2 separate regions of the Homo sapiens genome follow, and region 1 is linked to region 2. The links are contacts of gene promoters, found by promoter capture Hi-C in blood cells and fetal thymus (Javierre and others, 2016). All regions are on one chromosome and are shown on one strand. Each heading gives the region's core, a stretch centred on a gene start or on the middle of the fragment in contact. The rest is flanking DNA. Distances are from core to core; before and after follow the strand shown. Region 1 overlaps CHMP5 (charged multivesicular body protein 5). Region 2 holds the start of NDUFB6 (NADH:ubiquinone oxidoreductase subunit B6).

Region 1 (6,376 bases), core at 554-3,053, 700 kb after region 2:
TTTGTGGAGATGAGGTTTTGCCATGTTCCCCAGGTTGGTCCCAAACTCCTGAGCTCAAGTGATCCGCCCTCTTTTGCCTCCCAGAGTGCTTGGATTACAGGCATAAGCTACTGCACCCAGCAGAATTTTCAAATGTCTTGCATTGCTTTAGAAATTCTGAAGGATAAATGGTGCTGATTTGGTCCTTTTGCTTTATCAACACTAGTTCTGTTCCTGTCTGTGTGGAATTTTAGTATATGAAGAGTGTATTGTTGTTCCGCACATAATTAACACAGTAAAATATATATAGTATTAGGTGCTTAGTGTTTTACATATATTATTGCAATAAATCCTTACAATAACCCCAGTGAGATATGGCTATTTTATTTATTTATTTATTTTTGAAACAGAGTCTCGCTCTGTCGCCCAGGCTAGAGTGCGGTGGCGCGATCTCGGCTCACTGCAACCTCTGCCTCCTGGGTTCAAACGATTTTCCTGCCTCAGCCTCCCGGGTAGCTGGGATTACAGGCGCATGCCACCATGCCTGGCTAATTTTTTGTATTTTAGTAGAGATGGGGTTTCACCATGTTGCCCAGACTGGTTGCGAACTCCTGAGTTCAGGCAATCCACCCACTTTGGCCTCCTGAAGTGCTAGGATTACAGGCATGAGCCACCGCGCCTGGCCAGATATGGCTATTAATAATTCCATTTTACAGATGAGGAAAATAAGGCTTAGAGACATTACTTCTCATTGAGTAATGGCAAAATTGAACTTGGGTATATCTGACTCCAGAGTCTCACTCCTAACCATTATACCAGCTGCCCTTTGTTATGCTATACCACTTCTTAGATTGGTTTCATATTACAGTTTACCCTTGAACAGCAAATGCAGTTTGAACTGCACGAGTCACTTATATGCAGATATTTTTCAACCAAACGAGGATCGAAAATATAGTGTTTGCAGGATGCGAAACCACCCATATGGAGGACCAACTGGGGACTTGGGTGTGGGCAGATTTTGGTATAGACAGACATCCTGGAACCAATCCCTTGCGTGTACCAAGGGACAACTGCATTTTTAGCCTTGTAGTAATCTCCCAGTTAAGCACAGGTAGATTATTCACACAGGGTTTATGCCCTTGGTCCATTTTTTTCACCAGCCTTGTCTTGGCTGTGACACCTATCCTGATTCCCTTTCTGATTCTCCATCCAGGGTGGGCCCATGTACAACTCACTTTTTGTACCACTTCAGTTGTTTCTACTCTTGCCTCCTTTCTCTACACAGTGTAATCTGTCTTTCGCTGACTTGAGAAGAATAATTTGCTTGTCTCAGTAACCTCCCTGTCTTCATTAACTAGAAAATGATTGACAGTTTAGATCAAGATAATTGCTTGATTTAATGTTTCAAGTAAAACTTTCTGTAATAGTAGACAGCTGACAATCATCTATTCTCACATAGGACTTTGGGCTTCCATGAGGCACTTTAAAATCAAATCCAGCCGGGCACAGTAGCTCATGCCTATAATCCCAGCACTTTGGGAGGCTGAGGTGGGCAGATCACCTGAGGTCAGGAGTTTGAGACCAGCCTAACCAACATGGCAAAACCCCACCTCTACTGAAAATACAAAAATTAGCTAGGCGTGGTGGTGCACACTTGTAATGTCAGCTATTTGGAGGCTGAGGCAGGAGAATCACTTGAACCCGGGAAGTGAAGGTTGCAGTGAGCTGAGATTGCACCATTGCACTCCAGCCTGGGTGACAAAGCGAGACTCCATCTCAATAAATAAATAAATAAAGTAAAAAATAAAATGAGAGATCATCAATTCTATTCTTTAAGTTCACATTTTGCCACCAAAAATAGGCAAGGGATTATGTGGGTCAGTAACATTCATAATTATTGTTAGAGGAGGTCTTTGGGCTTATGGTTTTTAATTCTTTAAGCATTCTCTCATACTTTTAATTAGAAGGGATGTTTTAAGAGTTACTTGAACCTGTCCTTTAGAGGAGTGTCTGCTCAGTTGTTAACATTAAAAAATTGCTAGCCAAAGACTGGGATAGGGGAGGTGAACTAACAGTTGTTGAGAACTGTTTATGTGCTTGGCATTTTATATACATTATCTTTTTAAAAATTGCTCATGTCTAGATTCAAAGGAGAATGTAGGGGAAAAGGGTAGTTAAAAGAAAATGGTAAATGAGAGAAAATCCTCTCATATATATTTCCGTAGGATTTACAAGACCAGCTAGAGGATATGATGGAAGATGCAAATGAAATCCAAGAAGCACTGAGTCGCAGTTATGGCACCCCAGAACTGGATGAAGATGATTTAGAAGCAGGTAAGTTATGAGAAAAGTAATGTATATTTAGTTTTGGAGTCCAAAAGCAACAGCTGCCTGGGACCTTTTCTCAAATGCTAGTGAAAATTTCTATCAGGATTTCCTGAAGGTTAGTTTATGGTACTGTCCCTGGGCAAAGAGCTTGTGAGGCAGCCACATCAGATTGCATACTCCACCAACAACAGTGGGATGGATCAACTCTGAAGGAAGTCCAGGTACAGGCTGACCTGGTGCTTGGTATCTGTAAGTGTCCTCCACGTGGCCTTTCCTTGCTGTATTCCTTTTGATTTTGTTCTCACTATTTTCCTAGTTGGAGTCCTCTCCCTCAGAACAGCAAAACCAATTAAGAAACAATAATTAGGGCCAGGTGCCCTAATCCCAGCACTTTGGAAGGCCAAGGTAGGCGGATCCACTCAAGCCCAGGAGTTCGAGACCTGGCTGAGCAATATGGCGTCACCCCGTCTCTATAAAAAATACAAAAATTACCCAGGCATGGTGGTGTGCGCCTGCGGTCCTAGCTACTCGGGAGGCTGAGGTGGAAGGATCACTTGATCCCAGGAGGTAGAGGTTCCAGTGAGCCGAGATTGCCCCACTGCAGCCTGGGCAACAGAGTGAGACCTTCTCTCAAAAAAAAAAAAAAAAAAAAAAAAGAATAGTTGGCAAATACTTAGTGTGCATCTACTCTATGCCAGGTACTCTACTAGGTGGTGGGAATTTAGCACTGAATAAAAATGCAGCCCCTACATTCATGAACCTTCTCTAGCAGTGGAAGACATAAATGGTTTGCTTCAAGTAATTAATTACTAGAGCACAGACTATAGGGAAGAAGTATGGGGTAGCATGGGAGCACATACTAAGGGACTCTAACCTAGTTAGTAGTGGGAGAGAGGCATGGGACCTGAAGGGTGAGTAGGGGATAGCATGAAAAAATGAGAAGGGTTGTCGAATGGCCTCAGGGAGAGCAGTCTGGAAGTTATTGCGATAGCCATTTAAGAGATGATGGTGGCCGAGACTAGCTAGGGTGATGGTAGCAGAAACAGACAGAAGTGGACAGATTGAAGACATCTTAGAAAATTGAGTGGACAAGACTTAATGATTGACAGGATGTGGAAGAAGTGGGAGGTGTCAAGGGTGGCTGTCAGTTTCTAGCATGAGTAACTGGGTAGATGACAGAACCATTCCACACTGGATTTCTATTGTGTGATTCCCCTGTTACATTACTACTGCTGCTTTCCCGCTCTCTCCATGGTCTATTTTTGCCTAGAACCTTTCATTTTTTTTCCACTTATTTCTTTATTTTTTAATTTCCCATCTTCAATTGCCCCTGATAAGTCTCTACCTGCTATTGTCATTCCTCTTGGCCACTTCCAACTCATTTTACCACAGACTTATTTTTGGAGTCTGATTTCACGTAATGGTCACACAGCATACAACAATCTCATGCCCTCTTCACTGCCTTCTTTCAAGTCCATCGATAAATGAGAGAAATTATTAGCTGCCAGTTTTCTTGGTTACATTTTTTTTAAATGTTGACTGTTTCAATCTCAGAGTTGGATGCACTAGGTGATGAGCTTCTGGCTGATGAAGACAGTTCTTATTTGGATGAGGCAGCATCTGCACCTGCAATTCCAGAAGGTGTTCCCACTGATACAAAAAACAAGGTGAAAGCTTTTTCTGTTTATATTTCAATGCAAAATAGCAAAGGCTTTATGCTTGACCATAAGTCTGGGAATCTAAAAGGTAGTCTTAACATTAGAACAAAGAAAGACAGTCCTGGTCATTATTTTGTGAACCCTTGAAGGTCCGGTTTTTCTGCATTGGATGATGAACTGACTGCATAAACACTGTCACTGAGGCTCAGGAATATTTTTATAGAATGACAATTTGTGTAACATACATGATCACCCTTGTTGTGAGCTGGCACTGGGTACCATTGATGGGTCTTAGACATTTCCTGTAAAAGCGTAAGCAACACATGCATGAGACTTGCTAGGCAGCAGTGAAAAAGTCTCACTCTTCATACACACCAGTTAATTACTGGCTGGATTTTTAATTTTATTTTCCTTTCTTTTTCTTTTTTTTTTTTCCTGTACACACAGGAGTTTAGAATGGGTGGATTTTCTAAACTATGGATTAATAATTTAAGCATAAAACTTAATGTAGAAAGATTCTAATTTAAGGCAAAAGAATCAGAACACCTGACACTAAGTATGACTAATTACTTAGCTATTGTAAGCTTTTCTTTTCCTTGCATCTGTAAAATGCAGATAATTACAAGTATCTCACGTAATTGTTGTGCAAGCAAATTAGATCTTGTATGTAAAGGACTGTGCAAACTTAAAGCTCTGTCCAAATCTACATGATTGTCTTTTTTTTTGAGACAGAGACTCATTCTGTCACTCAGGCTGGAGTGCAGTGGCGTGATCTCAGCTCACTGCAACCTCCGCCCCCCTGGTTCAAGCAATCCTCGTGCCTCAGCCACCCCAGGTAGCTGCGATTACAGGTGCGCGCCAACATGCCTGGCTAATTTTTGTATTTTTAGTAGAGACGGGGTTTCACCATGTTGGCCAGACTGGTCTCAAACTCCTGGTCTCAGGTGATCTGCCTGCCTCAGCCTTCCAAAGTGCTGGGATTACAGGCATGAGCCACTAATAATGACAACCAGGCTGGGCAAGGTGTGACTTTGAGCAAAATAGCAGAAATTTATGTCTTCTTTTTGAACCTCATCAGTTTTTCCTACCTGTAAAATGTGAGAGCAAAGGGCAGGGAGCAGGTAATTTCTTAGGTCCATTATTACTGGTTTCTGTGAGTATGCATCTTCCTCTATTGTATCCTTCCCTTCTCTGTTGAGCCTGGGATAGTCTTGCCTTTCTGAACTGCCCACTCCTCCCCGACCTCTCTGGCAACTTCAAGGTCCCAGGTCCATGGGTTGCTTTTTCTCAGCAACCCATGAAATAATTTTTATTAATACTACCATAGTCCACCTTGTTAATTTTCTAGTAACAAGTCCCTGTAGCGGCCAGGCGCGGTGGCTCAAGCCTGTAATCCCAACACTTTGGGAGGCTGGGGCAGGCGGATCACGAGGTCAAGAGATCGAGACCATCCTGGCCAACATGGTGAAACCCCGTCTCTACTAAAAATATAAAAAATTAGCTGGGCGTGGTGGCAGGCTCCTGTAATCCCAGCTACTTGGGAGGCTGAGGCAGGAGAATCACTTGAAGCCGGGAGGCGGAGCTTGCAGTGAGCCGAGGTCGTGCCATTGTACCACTCCAGCCTGGGCAAAAAGAGCAAAACTCAATCTCAAAAAAAAAAAAAAAAAAAAAGTCCCTGAAGCATCTATGTTATTTCCACTTTGAGAAGGTCACAGATTCCTGAGTTATATATGCTGTGGATATATGGGGGTTTTGTTGTTGTTGTTGTTTTATCTTTTTGAGATGGAGTCCCGCTGTGTCACCCAGGCTGGAGTGCAGTGGCACAATCTCAGCTCACTGCAACCTCCACCCCCGGATTCAAGCAATCCACCCACCTCAGCCTCCCAAGTAGCTGAGATTACAGGCATGCTTCACCACACCTGGCTAATTTTTTTGTTTTTAATAGAGATGGGATTTCACTATGTTGGTCAGGCTGGCCTCGAACTCCTGACCTCAAATGATCCACCTGCTTCAGCCTCCCAAAGTGCTGGGATTACAGGCCTGAGCCACCGCGCCCGGCCTGTTGTTGTTTTTAAAGTAAAGGAATAAAAGAATGGCTACTCCATAGGCAGAGCAGCCCTGGTGTTTTCATTGATAGTGATGTCGCTGCCTATGATTATAGTAAAGCATGATATGGAAGTGACTGCCTATCCACGGGCACTGCTCCTTCAAGGATTTGGGAGGCTAAGAAAGGTATTGGTCCAGAGTGAAAATGCAAATCTGGAGGCAAGGACCCACTCCTCAACCTTTCCTTTTTGACTCTCCCAGCCTCCTTTTCCCCTTTCCAGGTTTACTCTTAGATTTCTCTTTCTCCCTCTTTCACTCTCTTTCCCCTGTGGAGGAGCCCCCTTTTGGCCCTTTCTAGTTCTCTT
Region 2 (6,454 bases), core at 283-2,782:
AACTTGATTAAAAAACACCTATCCATTCAAGGAAGGGACAATCCAGAATCTAAGAATTATAACAGATATGATTATAAAAGAATAAATTAAAGTAAGGTAAGGTGAACTTCGACACATTATTATTTATTTACTTCCTTATATCACTTGCTGATGGATGGGATGTCAACTTTAAATCAGTGACTGCCAATATTCCGATAATGTCAGGGATACAAAGGGTGGGAGAAGAGTTGAATTTTACCACCATAAATAAGTATCCAATATCACTTTCTCAGAAAAATTTTCAACAATTCTATTGCACTAGACTTTGTAGCACAGTAAGAATCAGATACATGTTGATTACAATATGAACTCATATTCAATTCCTAGCTCCCTGACCACCAGCAAATCACTGAAGCTTTGTAGGCCTCAGTTTCTTCACATTTAAAATGAGGATTAGGAATATCTACCTTACAGGAATAAAGAAATGAAGTAACACATGTAAAACCCCCAGTAGAGTGCCAAGCACACAGCAAGCACCCGTGTGTTACGTAGTATTGTTACTACTATTATCCTGTCATCAGTAAGTGTTGCAGGTAACTGAAAGCAATTCTGAGATGTTTATCATCCATAACAGTCCTCAAGAAAATACCCAGAGGCCTTGAAAATAAAGTTCTTGAATGAGTGATTTTCTTCAAAGCCCAAAATGCGATTTTTTTAATGAAACACTGTGTTAAAAGTACAGAACGGTAGTTTAGAAAGGTAGCTCTTGAATGTGACTCACAAGGCATACCAACAGGACCCTGTCTTTTACGGGGATCACATGGGGCTGTACTATCAGCTAGGGGCTGGCTGTGCCCTCTGGTGGTTGGATACTGTGTTACTTGGTCTCTAGAACCTCACACTTAAAAGTCAGACAAGTGTCCTCAAATACTTAAATCACAGAATTTTAATTCTAGCGAGTCCTTGGTTATTATTCTGAGGGAAGATTTCTACAGTCAAAAGAGAACCAAACGTGCAGCGTCCTGGAAAACCTAAGTATTAAAATTCGCCCCCGTCCACTGTACTTGACAGTAAAAGGCATGATTCTCTCAAAGCCATACATATTCCTGGACTCCTGCCTCCCGAGACTCCAGGAGGACTCTCGGGACTGGCCAGTGTCCCAGAGCACTGAGCGTTATCAGTCCTTGGTGTGGCTGCAGGGAGCGGACGTTCAGTGTTCAGGCTGCCGGCAGCAGTGGGATGTGTTGGGGGGGACCGGAGAGGTCTGTCACTCACCATTTTCCTCCAAGGGGATTTATTCTCCAAAAATTTATTCCAGAATTTCTCCATAGGCCCCATCTTCTGTGGGGGCAGCACCGGCTCCCGAGGGCTCAGCTCCTGGTCCTTCAGCCATCGCCTTCTCAGCTCTCGCAGCTGCTGCAGCCGCAGTTTCTCATCCGGAGTGTACCCCGTCATGTCGCCGCTGGTACCAACGCAAAAGGACACGGCGCACCCTCGAACTACGGACTAGTTACTTAAGCGCGCTCCCGCTCTGCAAAGCGACCTTGCGGGAACGCCGAGCGCCGCGCGCGGTTATTACGTCACATCCTGGTTCCGCCTCTGCAAGGGCCCCAGATTCCTCGCGAGGAAAGCAGTGTGTGGGCATGCACAAAGGTCTCCACCTCCAGTTCTCTCTACGCCCACCTCCGCTATACCCGACCAAATTAGGACCGGGTGGGGACAAGGAGTACTCGTAGTTGTGGGGCCTGAGGAAAGTGACAGATTAGACGAAAGTATGCTAAATTAGAGGACTGGAGGTTTTGCTAAGGAAGAACTTGTATGCTGGGAGGAGGAAGGATAAGCATAAATGTTTCAGTGAATATGCTGGCCAGATTCAAAATTATTTGCTTGCCTCTCCCACCTTGGAATGACCTAGAGAGTGTATGAAAATAGTTACATCCCAGTTCAAATCCCAGCTATGCCAGTAACTGCTGAAGTGCCCTGGGCAGCTGTCTCATCTGTCCCTCCATCTGTACAGGAATAGTGAAAAGAGTAGCTTAATATCTAGCAAAATTGCATAGATGAATTCATGCTTTCACCCAAAAATACGTGTGGTGAAAATATGAAAGAGCATGCACGACTATTCAGCACGATTCATAATACCAAAATATTGGAAATTACCCCCAAATTCCTAAATAAAGGACTGCTTGAATAAATTGTAGTACAACAGTCAAAAGACAGCATTACAACGAATTAGTTTAAAAATCTTAATTGACTCTTATTCGTGATTCTAGAATCAAAAAACACCTCATTCTATAAAGTAGAATGAGTGTTCTGATCAGCTGAGCAGAGGCGGTTGGTTTTATTGGCAAATAGGGGCTGAAGAAAGCAGAAACCGAACAAAAAGTGGACTCATCGTTTCAAAGTTACTTTTAGGGTTAAAGCAGAAGAAACTTCCTTGTTTCACTGACTCAGACTTAAGGGAATTTCCTATTTTTTGGGAAACTGGCCCATTTCAAAGTTCAGTTTGATTGTGTGGTACTTAGCACAAACGACTCCATTCTGGTTTGGTCTGGTCTGCTGGGGCCTAGTGCGTGAAGCTAGTCCAAAACAGTGGCTTCCCAAAAACTTTCACACAACAAAGCAATGAAATGCTAATACAATCGTCAAAAGTAATAAGGAAGAACTCTATATACATCTGTGGTGTGATCTCCAGAATACATTACAAAGTGGAAAAAAAATGGATAGGAATTTGTACAGTATGCTTTTACCCAAAAAGAGAAAGATGGTGGTAATTTCAATATATATACATATTTTCTTAAATTTTCAAAATAATGGGAATGAAAACAATTGAGGTTTTTAAAGATGCTACCTATGGTGGAGGAAATAAATAGGATAGAGGAGACAGGGATAGAATCTAGACATCTCTGGAAACATCTTACTTCATAAATTTGACTTTAGAACCAAGTAAATATTTCATATTGTGAAATTAAATTTAGCTTAAAGATGTCTCCGTATTTTGAGTCCTTATATAATGAACTGCAACCCAACTTAGTATGCAATTTAACTCACAGCCTAACTTAGGAATATACTTCTGTAACAAATAACTGAGTCTCAGCCAATCATCACAGGTGGTCAACTGATCAGCCCATGTTCAAATAAGGCAAAGGCCAACCTGTAGCCAATCAAGCTGTTTCTGTATCTCATTTCTGTTTTTTTTCTATGCGTGCTGCCTGGCCTCTTTGTGGAACGATACTTTCTGAACCTCCTCTGGTTCTGAGGGCTGCCTGATTCTCAAATTGGTCATTGCTCAATTAATTTCTGCTAAATTTAATTTTTCTAAAGTTTTAATTTTAACAATATCATTACAAAACAAAATTAAATTTACAAAAAGCAGTCCATAAAAATCAAGTAAAAACCAGTAGCTCTTAATTGGTCCACTTGGTGGCATAATCTCAAAGGTACACATCATTCTAAATACAATAGCCCTTGTAACAACGCTAGGGTTAGTAGTGCCAATCCCCTCCACTTGGCACAATCAAACATCCACATATAACTTTGGACTCTCCAAAAACTTAATAGCCTACTCTTGACCAGAAGTTTTACTGATAACATACAGTCAATTAACACACATTTTGTATATGTATTATATGCTATATTATTACAATAAAGTAAGCCAGAGAAAATAAACTGTTATTAAGAAAATCATAAGGAGGCAAAGAGAGGGGTTGGTCTTGCTGTCTTGGGGTGCCAGAGGCAGAAGAAAATCCACGTATGATGGACCCTCGAAGTTCAACCTGTTTTTTTCAAGGATCAACTATAACTTTAAACCATTGAATTATTGTAAATCCACTGAGAGACAACCCGCAAAAACAAACAAAAAAAAAACAACTTAAAAAAAATCTTGGCCAGGCGTGGTGGCTCACGCCTGTAATCCCAGCACTTTGGGAGGCCAAGGCGGGTGGATCACAAGGTCAGGAGATCGAGACCTTCCTAGCTAACACAGTGAAACCCCGTCTCTACTAAAAATACAAAAATTAGCCAGGTGTGGTGGCAGGCGCCTGTAGTCCTAGCTACTCGGGAGGCTGAGGCAGGAGAATGGCATGAACCTGGGAGGCGGAGCTTGCAGTGAGCCGAGATCGCGCCACTGCACTCCAGCCTGGGTGACAGAGAGAGGCTCCGTCTCAAAAAAAAAAAAAAAAAATCTTAAACTGTTTTAAATAATCATATTGAGGATAGTGGTGTTGATCATGGTATTGTTAATCTGACACTGAAAATAACTGTTTACGTGAGTGTTGTAAAAACTGATCTTTTTTGGTATGGGGAGACATGTATATAAATTGTATGTGTTTAAGTAAAAATCCTATAGTCAAATTGTGAACAGGAAGAATCAGTATGAACTCATATTGTATTTTATCTTTAAAAATGTATATAATTTTGTCTTAGCTCTACCTGTTGATAATGGCCTAAAAGAAATTGGCAAACCAATAATCATGAGCATCTTTTGTTCTTAGGTTGTGATCTCTCATGTACATTTTCCACTGAAAGGAACTAGGACTGCTTGAAGCAGCAGTTCTCAAAAGTTTTGCTTCCAAGACTTCTTCAAATTCTTAAAAATTGTTGGAGATCCCAAAGAGCTTTTGTTTATGTGGGTTAATCTATTGATGTTTACTGCATTAGAAATTAAACATTTTAAAGTAACAATGTACTCATTAAAAAATTAGTGAGAAGAGTGCCATTGTTTTACATTTTTGTAAATGTCTTTAATGTCTTGCTTCATAAATGACAGCAGAATTGTTATAACTGCTTCTGCATTCAATCATAATGTAACACATCGTATAGCCTCTGAAAATCCCCATGTATATTTGTGAGAGAATGAGACTTTATAAGGGTAAAATAAAAAGGGCAAACAGTCAGTCATCTGTATCTGTGGGTTCCACAATTACATATTCAGCCAACCACAGATAGAAACTATTCAGGAAAAAAAACAATAAAAAGTAATATGAATTTTAAACAATACAGCCTAACAACTATTGACAGAGTATTGACATTGTATTAGGTATTATAAGTAATTGTAACTGAAACACAGGTTTAGTCACTCAACACTTGCAGAGTCCAGTTAACAAGAGCGAGGTCTGGTATAAAGAAAGTGACTTTGTATTCCAAAGCTAGCTTAGGGGAAGAAGTATGGGCTTCCAGCCTCAAAGGTACTGCTCCACTTTTGGAGCAGAAAGTGGGTACTTTCGAAAGGCAGGGGAGACAGCAAGTGGGTAGGAAGTCCACATGCTAGCTTGGCACCTTATCTACTAGGCAGTCAAGTTGGCATCTTCATGGGCAGAAATAAGTTATTAAAATGGCCAAAAACTTTCCCGGTGGGAAAGAGTTTCTCATCATGTATACTTTGGGTTGTAAATCGACTGTTACCTCTTGAGGCAATCTCCTGGTGGGTGAGAGTTTGTTCTGGAGCTTCTGAGTACAAAGTTAGATGAACTTGCCCTGTAGGGAGTGTCTGGTGAAGGGGAGGTAAAGGTTATAATTGCATTTCAAACGGGCTAGTAGGAAGTGGAGAATAGCAAGAAACAGAAGAGAAAAGAAGAAAACTAATAAAAAAAATAACTCATTCTCTTTTTCTTAGAAAAATGGGGATACTCAGTTACATAACCTAGAGATGATTTAAAGTATATGTGAGGATGTGCATAGGTTATATGCAAATACTACCCCATTTTATATGAGGGTGCTAAACCAAACTAAAATCTGGCCCGAGAAAGTCTCCATACTTGCATACTGGAGTTCTTACTTAGGAATTGCAACCTAACTTAATAGATAAGCAAACTGAAAAATCTAATGGAGACATACTTCTGTAACAATAGCTGCATCTCAGTCAATCACTGCAGCCATACTTCAGCCACTCACAGGTGGCCAACTGTCCAAACCAGGTCTAAATAAGGCAAACGCCAAGCTGTAACCAATCTGGCTGTTTCTGTACCTCACTTCTGTTGTGTTTTTTTTTTTTTTTGTATTTCAGTTTCCTTTTTCTATTCTTAAAATCTCTCCAACTGTGCAGAAATAACTCTCTGAATTTGCTGTGATTCTGAGGGCCCAATTTGCGAATTGCTTTTTCCTTGATCAATTAAACTTTGTTAAATTTAATTTGTCTACAGTTTTTCTTTTATCAAGGGAGATGAGCATCTGTGGATTTGGGTATCTGAGAGGGGTCCTGGGACCCTCAGTATCCTTGGGGACATGGATACTGAGTGATAACTCTTACTATGAAAATAATCTTGACATCACGGACCCCATAAAAGGATCACAGGGACTCTTAAGAGGACCTGGGCCAAACTTTGAGAACCTCTGCCTTGGAAAAATGGCTAACCCCAGGCCTGGGTCGGATTAGGAAACGTAAAGAAAGCCTGGAACATCTTATCATGTCGGAAAGCAGGGAAGTTTTAAAGGCCAGTAGGGTTATGTCAAAAGGATTTGGGAGCCAACTTAAATA

What was found. The method cuts DNA at HindIII sites, captures the fragments that hold promoters and counts their contacts. A CHiCAGO score of 5 or more calls a contact.
Region 1: a contact is called between a fragment that was not itself captured here and the fragment with the promoter of NDUFB6 in region 2, in 1 of 17 cell types (monocytes). The highest score is 7.6, in monocytes.

What each region holds. Positions count from the first base shown.
Region 1 is chr9:33,274,252-33,280,627 of GRCh38, forward strand. CHMP5 (charged multivesicular body protein 5) reads left to right here. Exons shown (of 8, transcript NM_016410.6): 6 at 2,205-2,313; 7 at 3,862-3,974. Among named protein-coding and RNA genes, the nearest start is that of CHMP5, 12 kb to the left of the region's middle. The HindIII fragment of the contact is 4,352 bases long and covers 1-3,979 here.
Region 2 is chr9:32,571,627-32,578,080 of GRCh38, forward strand. NDUFB6 (NADH:ubiquinone oxidoreductase subunit B6) reads right to left here and starts at 1,533. Exons shown (of 4, transcript NM_002493.5): 1 at 1,255-1,533. The coding sequence starts at 1,434. RefSeq lists enhancers at 1,081-1,620, 1,891-1,940. The HindIII fragment of the contact is 6,496 bases long and covers 393-6,454 here.